3 separate regions of the Homo sapiens genome follow, and all the other regions are linked to region 2. The links are contacts of gene promoters, found by promoter capture Hi-C in blood cells and fetal thymus (Javierre and others, 2016). All regions are on one chromosome and are shown on one strand. The core of a region is centred on a gene start or on the middle of the fragment in contact, and the rest is flanking DNA. Distances in the headings are between cores, read along the strand shown.

Region 1 (4,300 bases), core at 1,733-4,232, 320 kb before region 2:
ATTTTTTTCCATGCCTGAAAGCCGGTGGGGTTTTACACAGGGACTGCGATGGCTAAATCCAAGGCAGAGTGGGATCTTTATCTATTAACCATTTGATAACTCAAGTTTATCCCTTGATGAATGAATAAGTTATCATTTGCCTTTGGGTCCCATTCTTGAGTGGTCATGGAGAGTTCTGTAGCTCACCCTCTTTATACTCATAATTTGCACAAATTTCACCTAAGAGTATTTACTTAACCACTTTAATTCAATTTGTCTCTACCTAAGACATTTAATTCAACAAATATTTTTTAAGCTTCTCTATAAAAGGGACTCTGGCAACTTTCAGACCCGCACTGTAGCACCAGCTCTCTGCTGGCCCACCCCTTGCAGACTTTGGGCTTGCCTGCCTTCAAAATCATGTGAGTCAATTCCTTAAAATAAATATATTTTTATTTATTTATATATATGTTTGCACACACACGCGAATCTTATTTTTTCTGTTTCTCTGGAGAATTCTGACTAATGCACCCCCATTCACCATCCAGGCTTTTGAGGAGAAAGATACCAATCTTAGCAGCAGAGGACACTCTGGATAGAGCTAGGAGTTTGTTGCAGAGTCTGACAAAAGTTCCCTCTGCAGAAGGGATGGAAGGATAGCCTTGGGGGTTGATTTAGGACTGGGTGTATGACATGGGGGAAAAGAAATCCCTGGGGGAGCTAAATGAGGGGAGGTGGACCCCTTATGATAGTTTATCAGAGCAATCTAAGAAATCATGTAGGCCTCTAAGAAAGCATCAAGAATCAATGCAATTTGATTAATTGACTTAAAATATGTTGAACTTTTCAGCCTCCATTGTGTATTTTTGGTGCAATACTCTGTGCAACTATTTCATCCAAGACCAGAAGGGGCTGGAAGATTGCCTGCTTCACATTAAAACCCTCCTTATTGTATTGGTGCTGACACGACACAAGGATATGCAGTCTTTATCCAGTCCTTATTGCTCACAGAAAGATACCAGTCCTTACTGCTCACAGAAAGTAGTGAAGCCTCCCTTCACTCACAGAGCCCACACAGGTATGCCCTGGTTTATGTAATGAATGGGCTGCTACAAATAGGTGTGATGCATGCCTTTGTGAATCACTTTATATTTTGAAGACACATTAGAGGAGCTGGCTATTTCAAAGAAATTTCACAAGTGCCTCATTTCTTAATGTCACAAGCATTTCTGATTTATAATCATAACCCCTTTCTAATGTATTAGCTTATGAAGTTCCATTTTTTGCCTAAGAGGTTTAATCAAAGCAAGATAAAACTATGCTTAATAATATTCAGTTACCTGAAAGAGCTATTGCAGAAATGCCTAATATATTACCAGAAAGTAGCTTAATGTCTCAAATAAATGTCAAGTTGTCCAAATCAAACTGATAGGCAGCTTAATGAGGGATAAATGTCATAATTATCCATATTTCTCCACATTTTTTTTAGAAAAAAACATTCACACAATGAAGGGAATCAGAATCTGTTTTTATATCCCTAGAGTTATAAACATTTGTATCAAAATATTTACAATTATAGTATATGAAATAATCTATTAACGAAGAAGCCCAATACAGTACTAGAACAATCCACCAGAGTAATGCAAATTACATGAGACATAAATGTCACAGAAAAAAAGTAAAAGATAAGGGAATACATGGTTTACTCCAGTCATAGTTCAACTTCTTAACAAAATGTGAGTATTCCCTTTGGATATGTCTGAAATGTAAGTATGTTTTTTGCACTAAGACAGCCTTCTATAATCATGTGATAATGAAATCATAATGACAAAGTTCATCTTCCCACAGTTTTTGCTGGCCAATCTCTCTAACCTCAGCCTAGGTAATTTGGTGGCTTGCCCTCAACATTTCCTTAACTAGAATAAACATAGAGAAATAGAATTAGTAATAATCCTTTTACATAAATACCAAAAATCATGGCATAACAACTCCCCAAAAAGGAAAGGTATAAAAGAAATGGATGAGGAGAAAGCTAATAAAGAAAAGTAGGCAAGATGTCTCAGATTCTCCCTGGGGTAGATCTTCTCAGGGCGATAAAGAAAACGTCTTCCCAAAAAACCCCTTTAGACAGAATCTGAGATGGCTTAAAATAGCTGCTCCAGGGCAAAGCAATGCCTGCTTAACCAGGAATAACATACTACTTCTAAGTCCTGTATAGAGGTGCTCCTGCGGCAGCAGACAGCTCGTCTACCATCTGACTAGGTACCACAAGAGTTTTTGCTTTTTTATTTTAAAGAAAAGATCTGCCCATCACCTATATTTTTATTTATCTCATGGGATTTTCGTATTTTCCTGGGAATGCAGGCACTCTGTTCTTATCATGGCTGAAATACGGTAGGCTTAATACTTCACAATTATATAGCACCTTTCACCCAAGGGCCTGTTGTTTGGTTTTGGTTTATGTGTGTTTTAATCAGCTTCCAGAATTGCCATGCCTCACCTGTGAAGTGGGATAGGCAGGGTCCCCAAGAGGTGATCACTCCAGGTGGTGTCTAAGCCAGAGCTACCACTGAGCCTAGGAGCCCTGATCCTCAATATTGATAATTAGACAAAACTTCCTCAAAAATGTTAGAGGAAGAGTAATAGGATTGTGCTACAATGAGCCATGTCCATCTCTCTCCTGTTGTATACTTAAAAGAAACACTGACTGCATTGAGGGGAATCCTAAAAACATAACCCTAACATGGCACTGTTGCAAGACTGCCCCTTGGATCCCATAGTTTGTGTGGTACTTTTACCACCGAATTGTTCACTAGTGACTTTAGAGAAACTCCAGAAGAGCTGCCTTGGCTTTCAGCAAGAGGCCTAGCAAAGACCATGGCATGAGGTCTCCATGAGGGACAGCCGTGTGTGAGGTCTCGACTGGGCTCTGACCATCCCCCAGGTTTTCCATTGTGAAAAGGTCTCCTTCTTGGTTTAGCTAACCCACCAGCATGACCTTACAAACTCTCTTTCCTCCTCCCATTTTGTCACTGAATTCCACAGAGCTAAATATCTGTTCCAAAGAGGGACAATGGCTCACAGGCCAAAGCCCCCCAGTAGGCACTTCAGACTGGAATGTGATGTTTTGCTTTGGGTCAGAAGGGCAGGATGGCTTCCAGGCTTAGCGTATTCAGCACAAAGACAGTATCTGCTCTTGCCAGAACTTGTACCGCTATTTTAACTCAGTGCAGTAGGTCTGTGGACCTCAGTGCATGACCCAGAAGTGGGGCTGGTGTTGTGGCAGCTGATGGGGCCCCAGACAGTGTGTGTCACTAAGAACAGCTGGAGGCCAAGTCTGGTGGCTGCAGGGAGGCTCTCTGGACCCCATCAAGGGAGCATCAAAGTACTAGCCAACTACTTTCTCCCCAGGGCAGGGGCTTGGCAGTAGAGAATCCCCTCAGTAATGGTTTGGGATTTGACCTCCCCCCTTTGCTTCCCCCTCCCCCCTCCCCTATCTCGGTTTTTCCTGTACAGCAACCTCCACTTCCCTCCCAGATTCAACGGCTTCCTCCTCCCCACCCCCCAGATCCCCATGAACTCGTCCGGCCTTATTTCTTTCTCAGGACCAGATAGAGAACGCCGATGATGAAGCTGAAGCAGAAGCAGATCCAGCCCAGGATGTAGGAATAGCCGTGGTGATACTGCGTTCCATCACGATTCGCATAATGACTAGTGTAGATGGACACCCCCACAAGAATGCACAGCCCTGCAGGGGAAAAGGAGATTTGTCGGTGTGTTTTCTTACATTAAAGTCGAGAAAAAGTTTTACTAATTTTAAGAAGATCCTATTTCCCTCATTAGCAATAGGAAAATGAATTCTGCTTGTTTGTCCCTAAACAGGAGTTCTGATGGATGTCCCCTGGGCCAAGCTCGACGGTATGTTGATAAATTAGAGGTGTCTGGGCTCTCATGTCTGCACTGGTTTGTGTGGCCACGCTGTGATGTAAAACACAGAACCTCATGCCTACCACCCAGCTGTCCTGTCTGGCCCTTGTGGGTCTAGGAAAGCTACTCAGGGATGCAAAAGAGCATGTCCTTCCACCAAACCGAGTATATTGGGAAAGAACAACAATTAAGTGAGAATCACAATAATGATGTGCATTGTGGCAGTGGTTTCATCTTTCTGAGAACTCCTACCTTTCTGCCTTCTTGAAGTGTCTTGTACACACGTGCTACTAACAGATATGCACTGCCACTTGGTAGCTACCCAGGAGCACTGGTTTTGAACAATGAAGCAGATGAGGGTTCTTAACCTAAGCAGCAATCCAAGGTTCTCCAC
Region 2 (4,132 bases), core at 1,630-4,129:
CAAGACCCTGTCTCAAAATAAATAAATAACTGCTGAAAATACAAGGAGAACCCAAAGGCAATACTATAGTTGCATGAGACTTTCATACTTCTTTACCAGTCCTTGGCAGATAAAATATACAATATGAATAAGAACATGGTAAAATTGTGTAAATGTTCTATGGATACTTAAATAGAAATATTCTCTATCTTCATATCTTATTAGATCTCCATTACTAATCATATAATTCAGATCCTCTATATCAGTGATCAGCATAGATTTTCTATAAAGGGCCAGGTTATAAGCAATTTAAGACTCTGCAAGCCACACATTTGTAGCATGAAAGCAGCATAGATGATACATAAACATATGAGCATTGCTGTGTTTTAGTAAAATAGTGGATTACAGGTTGTGGCTCATGCCTATGATCCCAGCACTTTGGGAGGCCGAGGCAGGCAGATCACCTGAGGTCAGGAGTTTGAGACCAGTCTGGCCAACATGGTGAAACCCTGTCTCTACTAAAAATACAAAAATTACCCAGGCGTGGTAGCGGGCGCCTGTAATCCCAGCTACTTGGGAGCCTGAGGCAGGAGAATGGCTTGAAACCTTGAAACCGGGAGGCAGAGGTTTCAGTGAGCCGAGATCACGTCACTGCGCTCCAGCCTGGGCAAGAGCGAGACTCCATCTCAAAAAAACGAAAACAAAAACAAAACAAAACAAAACAAAAATCACTTTATTTACAGAAAGAGGCTATAGGCCATATTTGGTCCATGGACCATAGTTTGCCATCTCTACTCTATTATGATTGCTTAATAGGAACTATGGTCCATGGTCCAAATGGAACATTTGCCAAAAATGAGCATATTTAGAATACAAAGACAAATCTGGAATTAGAAAATAAGAAATGTGCAGACCATATAGTCTGACCACAGTGCAATAAAAATGAGAATAAAAGAAGCAAACACCCTGAACTACTCAGGAAGTCAAAGATTCCTCAAGCAAAAATACTCCTCAATTTATTGTTTACTATACCACCATATTAATTCCTCAGCTTAATCTTGGGACTTTAAATAGTAGTGGACCCAGAATGAGAAGAATAAAATCACGCCGTCAAAATTGTTCTTCATACCCTGTTGTCTTCGATTACCATTCAAGACTAGAATACAAAAAAGCCAGTTCTAAAGGGAACTTCCAAGGCGACGTGTGCAGATGGAGAGGGGCCAGAATCGAAACACAGGAGGGGAAACTGGGGGCCTCCCCAAGACCCCTATGAGGAACTCAGGCCCAGCCCCTTGCCTGATCACAGTTCCATGTTCCTGCGGAGCTGGGAGGAGAAATCAGTCTTCCTGACTCAAGGTTGAGAGCTCTTCCCGGGAAACCAAAGGGTTCTGCTCATTCCATTCTGCCCTTGAGGCACTCACCTCTCCACGCCCTTGGAGAGGTCCCTTGTTTCCCACGTAGCGCCTCTCCCGGCCCTTCCTTCCCCTCATTCCTTCCCTCACCTAGCAGACACCGGCATGCAAACCTGGAGGGTGTGTGCCCCCTCCGCCCTCACCCCTCCCGTGGTCCCTAGCCCATTGTGTCTGAAGTAGCTGAAGTGTTCCCCTTCAGGAATGAACCCACAGCAGTGGCTGATTCGGCCGAACCCTTCAACAGGTGTGGTGTTTACACAAGCCTCTGAGGAGACAATCAGGAATGGAAAGAAGTCAGGAATGGAAAGTCCTTCAAATTCCTTGATTCTGAGCAGGTTTCAGCTGTTAGCTAGCCTTTCCCATGGATGTTTAAAGCTATCTGTGGCCGGGCGCGGGGGCTCACACCTGTAATCCCAGCACTTTGGGAGGCTGAGGCGGGCAGATCACCTTAGGTCGGGAGTTTGAGACCAACCTGACCAACATGGGGAAACCCCGTCTCTACTAAAAATACAAAATTAACCAGGAGTGGTGGTGCATGCCTGTAATCCCAGCTACTCGGGAGTCTGAGGCAGGAGAATCGCTTGAACCCGGGAGGTGGAGGTCGCGGTGAGCTGAGATCGCAACATTGTACTCCAGCCTGGGCAACAAGAGTGAAACTCCATCTCAAAAAATAAAATAAAGCTATTTGCCAGCCTTCCCCATGGATGTTTAAGGGACCAGATGGAACAGCATCTATGCTATTCCCAAATCCTATCCATAAAGTCGGTAGTGGAAGGTGCACTCTCAGCGCACATTCAACTTTCATCTGTCCCAGGTTTCTGAGCAACTCAAGGCACACCAGAGTGGAACTGACCGCCCACACATCAAGAGAAAAGGGATGGGCTTCTAGATCTAATTCCCAAAACTCAGAAGGGCTTTTTGCAGCATCTGGGTAAAATAGTAGCTGTCACCGTGTCCTCCCTCCTGCCCCTGCCCCTTGTTTCCCACTCCCCCTCCACTCCCAGTACCTTCGGGTCCTCTGAGATCTTTCTCCCTCTATTCTTTTCCTGCAGAGTGATCCCAGAGCTGCTCACCTCCTGCCTGGCCGGATTCCATCTACTCAAAGTTTGTAGAATGTGTCCGAGCAGAAACTATTACCCTGATTATCTCTTTGCTCTCTGCCTCTATCTTAGCCTAGGAAACCCGCAAAGGGGAAAAAAAAAAAAAAAAATCTGAGTTGTTAAACTAGAGGAACTGTTTCCTAGGGAATTTTTTTCTCATAGCCAACTGTATTCCATTACCAGGATTTCTCTCCTCTTCTATCCCACCCCTCCCAACGCCCCGCTCTCCCCAGACGATTTAAATCCGGAGGCCCCAGCGCTCTGGGCTCCTGGCGCCTCACTTACCCTAGTGCCAAGGCGTTGGCCGTGAACTTGGTGCTGCTTCCCGCGCGCAAGAGGGCAGCAGGCGAGCTCCTCAGTGCTGGGGGAGACCTTGGACAGCTATCCCGCCCTCGCACTCTGAGCAGTTGTTATAAAGGCGGCCCTCGCCGGAGGGAGGGAACGAGCGAGGGGTGAGCAGAGGGACAAGGAGGGGGAGGGTCGAGGGAGAGGACACGCCTATTCCAGTTCCACGGCACTTCATGCTGTTATGAAAATAAAGTCCCCGTGCCAGGGAATGACCCAAAAACCGTCTGACGTCAGAGGCACAGTCACCCCTGGAAGCTGGGCGGGGGTGACCACCCGGCCCTGCCCAGCGCATCGGACTCCTCCGAGACGTGCTCACGCGCTGGTCCCAGGGCGCCGGCTACGAGAGGGGAGCCGGAGCAGACCAGCTCCTTACGGGCCCCGCCAGCTGTCACCTCCCGGGGGAGCCACACCCGCCTCCCCGCAGGCACTCGGGTCCACCCGGGGCAAGGGCCCAGCCCGCGAGATTGCAGCAGCTCCGCCGTCAAGTCCAGCGGGACAAGCCAGCCTTCCTCCACTTTCTTTGACCTTAGCTTAGCCTTTCTCTCCATCACTCTCCCCCAGCCACTGCCGTATGGGAAGCCAGGCTTCAGAAAAAGGAGGCAGCCACCTTCTCAGGGCTCCCCAGCCAAAGCCACGTGAAAGCCAAGGAAAACTTCCCCCACCAGGTCCGTAGTTAGCTCAGCAGCTCCACCTGTCAGAGTCTAGACAGGCACCATTAGTGCTGCCCTGGGGCTGAGAGATCAGTATCTCTCCTTTCCTAACTGCCTCTCCTAAAGCCTCGACAATGCAGGCTGATTGAACGGGGGCGCCAGATGAAATTATGAAATGAAGGAATTTGCTTTGGTGCCTGGTTTCCCCTCCCTCCACTGCCCACTCCTCTTCCAGGATCAAGCCAATCGGACCGAAACTCGTCTTTGTTTACGTGTGGAACGATCCTGGAGTGGCTGCCCGCCTGTGTCGGGGCTCAAGCCAGGTTCTACCCCATGCCACGGGGAGGCAGGAGGGACTCTGTTTTTAAAGTGGTTATCAGCGCGCTTGGTAAACTAATCTGGATTATTCTGCATATGAAGAAATGGGGGAAGGCCCAGGGCTCCCCAGCTTTCTCTTCACTTCTCCCCACACCCCAAGTCTCCAGAGCCTAAAGTGCTTTTAAAATGTGACCTACTGGAGACTGTGACCCCACCATTGTTAGGTTTTTATTTCACTCCCAAAAAACCACAGGCAGTGCCTTGAGTGTTGGAACACTTTGAGGTATGCAGCCCAGGGGTCTGTGAGTCCACCCATTTCACACCT
Region 3 (4,044 bases), core at 173-2,672, 350 kb before region 2:
ATGATTTCAGGAGAATATACGCACTTCCTGGGGATGCCTAGAAGCCATCGAGAAGTAGCCTAGAGTTCCCACAGTATCATAGGACAGAGATTTTTAAGGAGAAATTTGCATATGAAAAAGAATGGGTTCTGCTTCTGTGAAATGTGATAATATATGCACGGTGATTTTCACTATGCTTGGATGCTCAGTAATTGGTCACTATATATGTTAAGTCTTCCTGCCCTTTTCTGATACTCTTTCTAACATCCCTTGAAGGGCAGTCCAAATTTTCACTCAATTACCATCATTCAGCTAACATTCACTGTCTGTTACTTGCAGGTCAGCAAGTTGACTCTATGGCACAAGCTTCCCCTTTTCTGGCAATGTTACTTCTGAGCCATGTTTGCAGCCTCCTAAGATGCTTTGCATACTGGAAAATAATTAAACTTACCCACAGATAAATAAACCAGAGTGAATCCATTTTTCTCTATTAATAAAGATTTATGTGAATATTTTTAATGAAGGTAACTGAAAGCAGGTGGAGGAATACGAAGTGTGTACGAAGCAGTTAGTAGTCAACTCGGCAGAGATCGAAGTGTGTCAGACTAAAACAAATATTAGTAAGAACAACATGTGGTCATTTTGCGCCTTTGTAGGAGGAAAGCCAATGAGAAACTTCAGTGTGGAAACATAACTGCTCTCCCACCAAACCCAAAAAGAAGCTAAACTGCTTATCAGGCATGGCGAGTATATGGTATGCGGTCAGCCTTATTAGCATATCTTAATTGAGAATTAGACCGTCATGGCAGAACACATTGTAAGTTTAAAACTTGGGAGACAAAATAATTCATTGAAATTCCCAAGGCACATCTTGTTTCCTACCTATTCCTTGAAATGTTTTCCTTTTTTTTCTCTCTTTGTTTTCCTGTTATTCATTTCTTCCTTCTTTCTTCTACCTTCAGCCATGCTCTCAACTTTCCTGTTCACTATCTAAATCCCTCCTTTTATACAATTATGTTTGTGATATATTTCCGCAATTATCAGAAGTTATTACTTCTTTTCTCTCCCCTCTCTGCTTTATATTGCTTTTCCTTTATCTTTGCCTCCCATTATTCATTCTCATTCATCTTTTTCATTGTCTTTCTCCCCTCTCATTCCCTCTGTCTTTTCCCCTCTACCTCTCTGTCACTCACTCTCACAAGCTCAATCTCACATACAAATTAAATTATTATAAAGAATTTCTTTGCTGGTTACAAATTCCATTCGTGCCCAGGGACTTAGGATTGCATAAGATTGGATGCATCTCACGCCCCGTTGCTCTAAACTGAAAATGTTTTCTTGACCCCCTCTCACTTCACACTACTGGAGGAATAGCATTATCCGTTATCTCCCCAGAGCAGCGATGGGAGGAACATACTGCTGAATATACATTTGGCCATGACTGCATCCATATTATGGAAGACATCATTTGCTCTTAGAACAGAGGACATCAGCACCGGCATTCACAGCCTCATCTGTTAAGTGTGTTTCCCTCATTCTGCAGTTGCTTAGCTCAGACCGGCGAGTACCTGGTGGGCAACCCTTCCTCTGAACTTGGTGGGGAATCATACAATCTGTTGAACTTGGCTCACATATAGCCTAGGAATGGGTACCCCAAATATTCCAGCACTGGTAGTAGTACTGGTAGGTGGTGTGTTTGAAACACAATCTCAAATAAAACAAAGCAACCATATCCCATGGAACTGGCTGTTTATCTCACATACTTGATCTGGTTGGGAGATGAATCAATGAGATCTGAAGTATTTTCCAGGGTACATACACAATGCTGTTGGTCTAGGCCTTGGTGTTATTCTCATGAGTGGTAGTCTAAATTGCAGAGCCATGCAGAGGGACTTATATTTGCCAGGAACGTATTAACTATATACTGCTTTCTGGGTAGTGGCTGGGACTTTGGAATAATTATTCTACAAGTTCACATGAGCATGAAAGATCTGACCCTGGGTGGGTCTTGGGGGCATTTTCTCTTCATGGCAAGCCTTGATAATGCCAAGCTCTAGCTGGCCCCTTAAGAAACCTCTGAGCCTTGGCCAGGGATGATTTTCAAGGTCTCTGACAGATCAGTAGTAAACAAAAAGTATCCCTGGACAGTCAAGAAGAAACCCCAGTTAATTGGTCTTCAAAATACCTAAGATCAGGCCAGGCACAGTGGCTCACACATGTAATCCCAGCACTCTGGGAGGCCTAGGCAGGTGGATTGCTTGAGCCCAGGAGTTCAAGACAAGCCTGAGCAACATGGCAAAACCCATCTCTACAAAAAATACAACAAATTAGCTGGGCATGATGGTGTACACCGGTAGTCCCAGCTACCCGGGAGGCTGAGGTGGGAGGATCGATAGAGCCAAGAAGGTCAAGGCTGCAGTGAGCCGTGATGGTGTCACTGAATTCCAGCCTGGGTGACAGAGTGAGCTGCTGTCTCAAAAAAAAAAAAAAGTAAAGAAAGTACTTAAGATCCAAGCTTGGCCTAGGATTATTCAGAAACCCTAGGGAATGTGGAAACCTGTCCCAATCCCACCAGACTCTAATTACTCTAGAAACTACACTCAGGTATTTAGTTTACACTGCTATAAGCCATAGAACTAACTGTTAACTTTATGACATGTCTTGCTTATTAAGCCACATGGTGCAAGTCAGGGATGTAATATGGTTAATCTCCTTTTTTTAAGTAGGATGTGCCCAAGAGAATATATATATATATATTCCTTCACCCAGAAATAGAGACACAGACCCAGAGACAGGCTCATGCTTAACGCCTACCATGAAACTCCTACCAGTCTCTATGGTGGTAGGATCTCTGACGGAGGTTGGGTCTCTGATGGAGGTTGGGTCTCTGATGAAGGTTGGGTTGTTGGGACCTGGTCTGATGTAGCTCTCTACATGGAATTGACAGTAGATATTCCAAGCTTAGCCACCTGCTGCTATCTTCTGAGCAAGAAGGGGCTCTAATGTATAAAATCTATCAAAGAACATAGAAAGGTTTCCTCTCTGAGCCAGGCAAGTAATCTCCCCAATAGCCAAGAAGAGTAACAGAAGATGTGCACCCTATAATGCTGGTCTTGGGGTGTAGGTGTATGAAACAGAAAAACAGGCCACAAATATGCAACTTCAAATTTAACTTCTTCTGAGGCATTTTTCTGGAAAACCTTCAGCTCTATGGGTATGACTCAATTAGTGTTCACTGAACATTTAACTTATTGGAAATATCGGAAATCAAATAATATTTCCAAATTTCAGGTGAAAAAACTGAGTCAAAAGATCACTAAGAGACACAACAAAGTGACTCAGAAAAAAAGATGAATTTATGTATCTGGTTTCTGAATCTCTAGGACTATTGTGTTCACTACAGAATACTAAATGCTTTGTCTCAAAATCCATTGAAAGATTGTATAGTTGCATAAGCTCCATTCATCTCAGCTACTAGTAACCCACAGTTATCTTGGGATACAAACCAAAGAAATATGAAATGCAACTAAATTTCAAAAAAGAAATAGTGTTGCAGGAATACAATTTCCCAAACACATGTTAGTTAATATTCCAGTATTAACTTTTACACTTTGCCTTTTATCTTGGCATGTCAAAGTACATAAACCATTATTCTAAGATCTTCGCCTTCATTCTCTCAAGATAAAAAAGGAGATTCAGAAATAATTGTGCCCAGTAATCCCCTAAGGAAACTAAAGCTCATAGAATTTCAGTGGAAGCTCTGCTTCCAGTTTAAAGTAACTCTGCACCCCAGGTTGCCCAAGGCCATGCCAATTTCAAAGATTCTGTCCCAATATCACCACATGTGGCCTCTCACTTCTCAGACTAGCCTGACTAGGCTCTGGGAAACATGGACTCTAGCTTCCAATACTCATTGACCCATTTAACAGATGTTAATGACCTACTGTGCACATGACAGGGTTAAAGTAAATAAAACTCCATCATGTCTTGGTGGAAATATGAACAATTATGCCCATTAGCATTGTTCGAGAGGCTAGTAGGCATAATTGCTATATTTCCACCAAG

What was found. The method cuts DNA at HindIII sites, captures the fragments that hold promoters and counts their contacts. A CHiCAGO score of 5 or more calls a contact.
Region 1: a contact is called between a fragment that was not itself captured here and the fragment with the promoter of GPRC5A in region 2, in 5 of 17 cell types (total B cells, naive B cells, activated CD4 T cells and 2 more). The highest score is 7.2, in total B cells.
Region 3: a contact is called between a fragment that was not itself captured here and the fragment with the promoter of GPRC5A in region 2, in 1 of 17 cell types (M2 macrophages). The highest score is 6.2, in M2 macrophages.

Annotation. Positions count from the first base shown.
Region 1 is chr12:13,213,961-13,218,260 of GRCh38, reverse strand. It overlaps EMP1 (epithelial membrane protein 1), which reads right to left. Exons shown (of 5, transcript NM_001423.3): 5 at 1-3,727. The coding sequence ends at 3,570. Among named protein-coding and RNA genes, the nearest start is that of EMP1, 19 kb to the right of the region's middle. The HindIII fragment of the contact is 5,370 bases long and covers 298-4,300 here.
Region 2 is chr12:12,890,309-12,894,440 of GRCh38, reverse strand. GPRC5A (G protein-coupled receptor class C group 5 member A) reads right to left here and starts at 2,879. Exons shown (of 4, transcript NM_003979.4): 1 at 2,777-2,879. The HindIII fragment of the contact is 15,074 bases long and covers 1-4,132 here.
Region 3 is chr12:13,234,938-13,238,981 of GRCh38, reverse strand. No RefSeq gene overlaps it. Among named protein-coding and RNA genes, the nearest start is that of EMP1, 40 kb to the right of the region's middle. The HindIII fragment of the contact is 2,149 bases long and covers 348-2,496 here.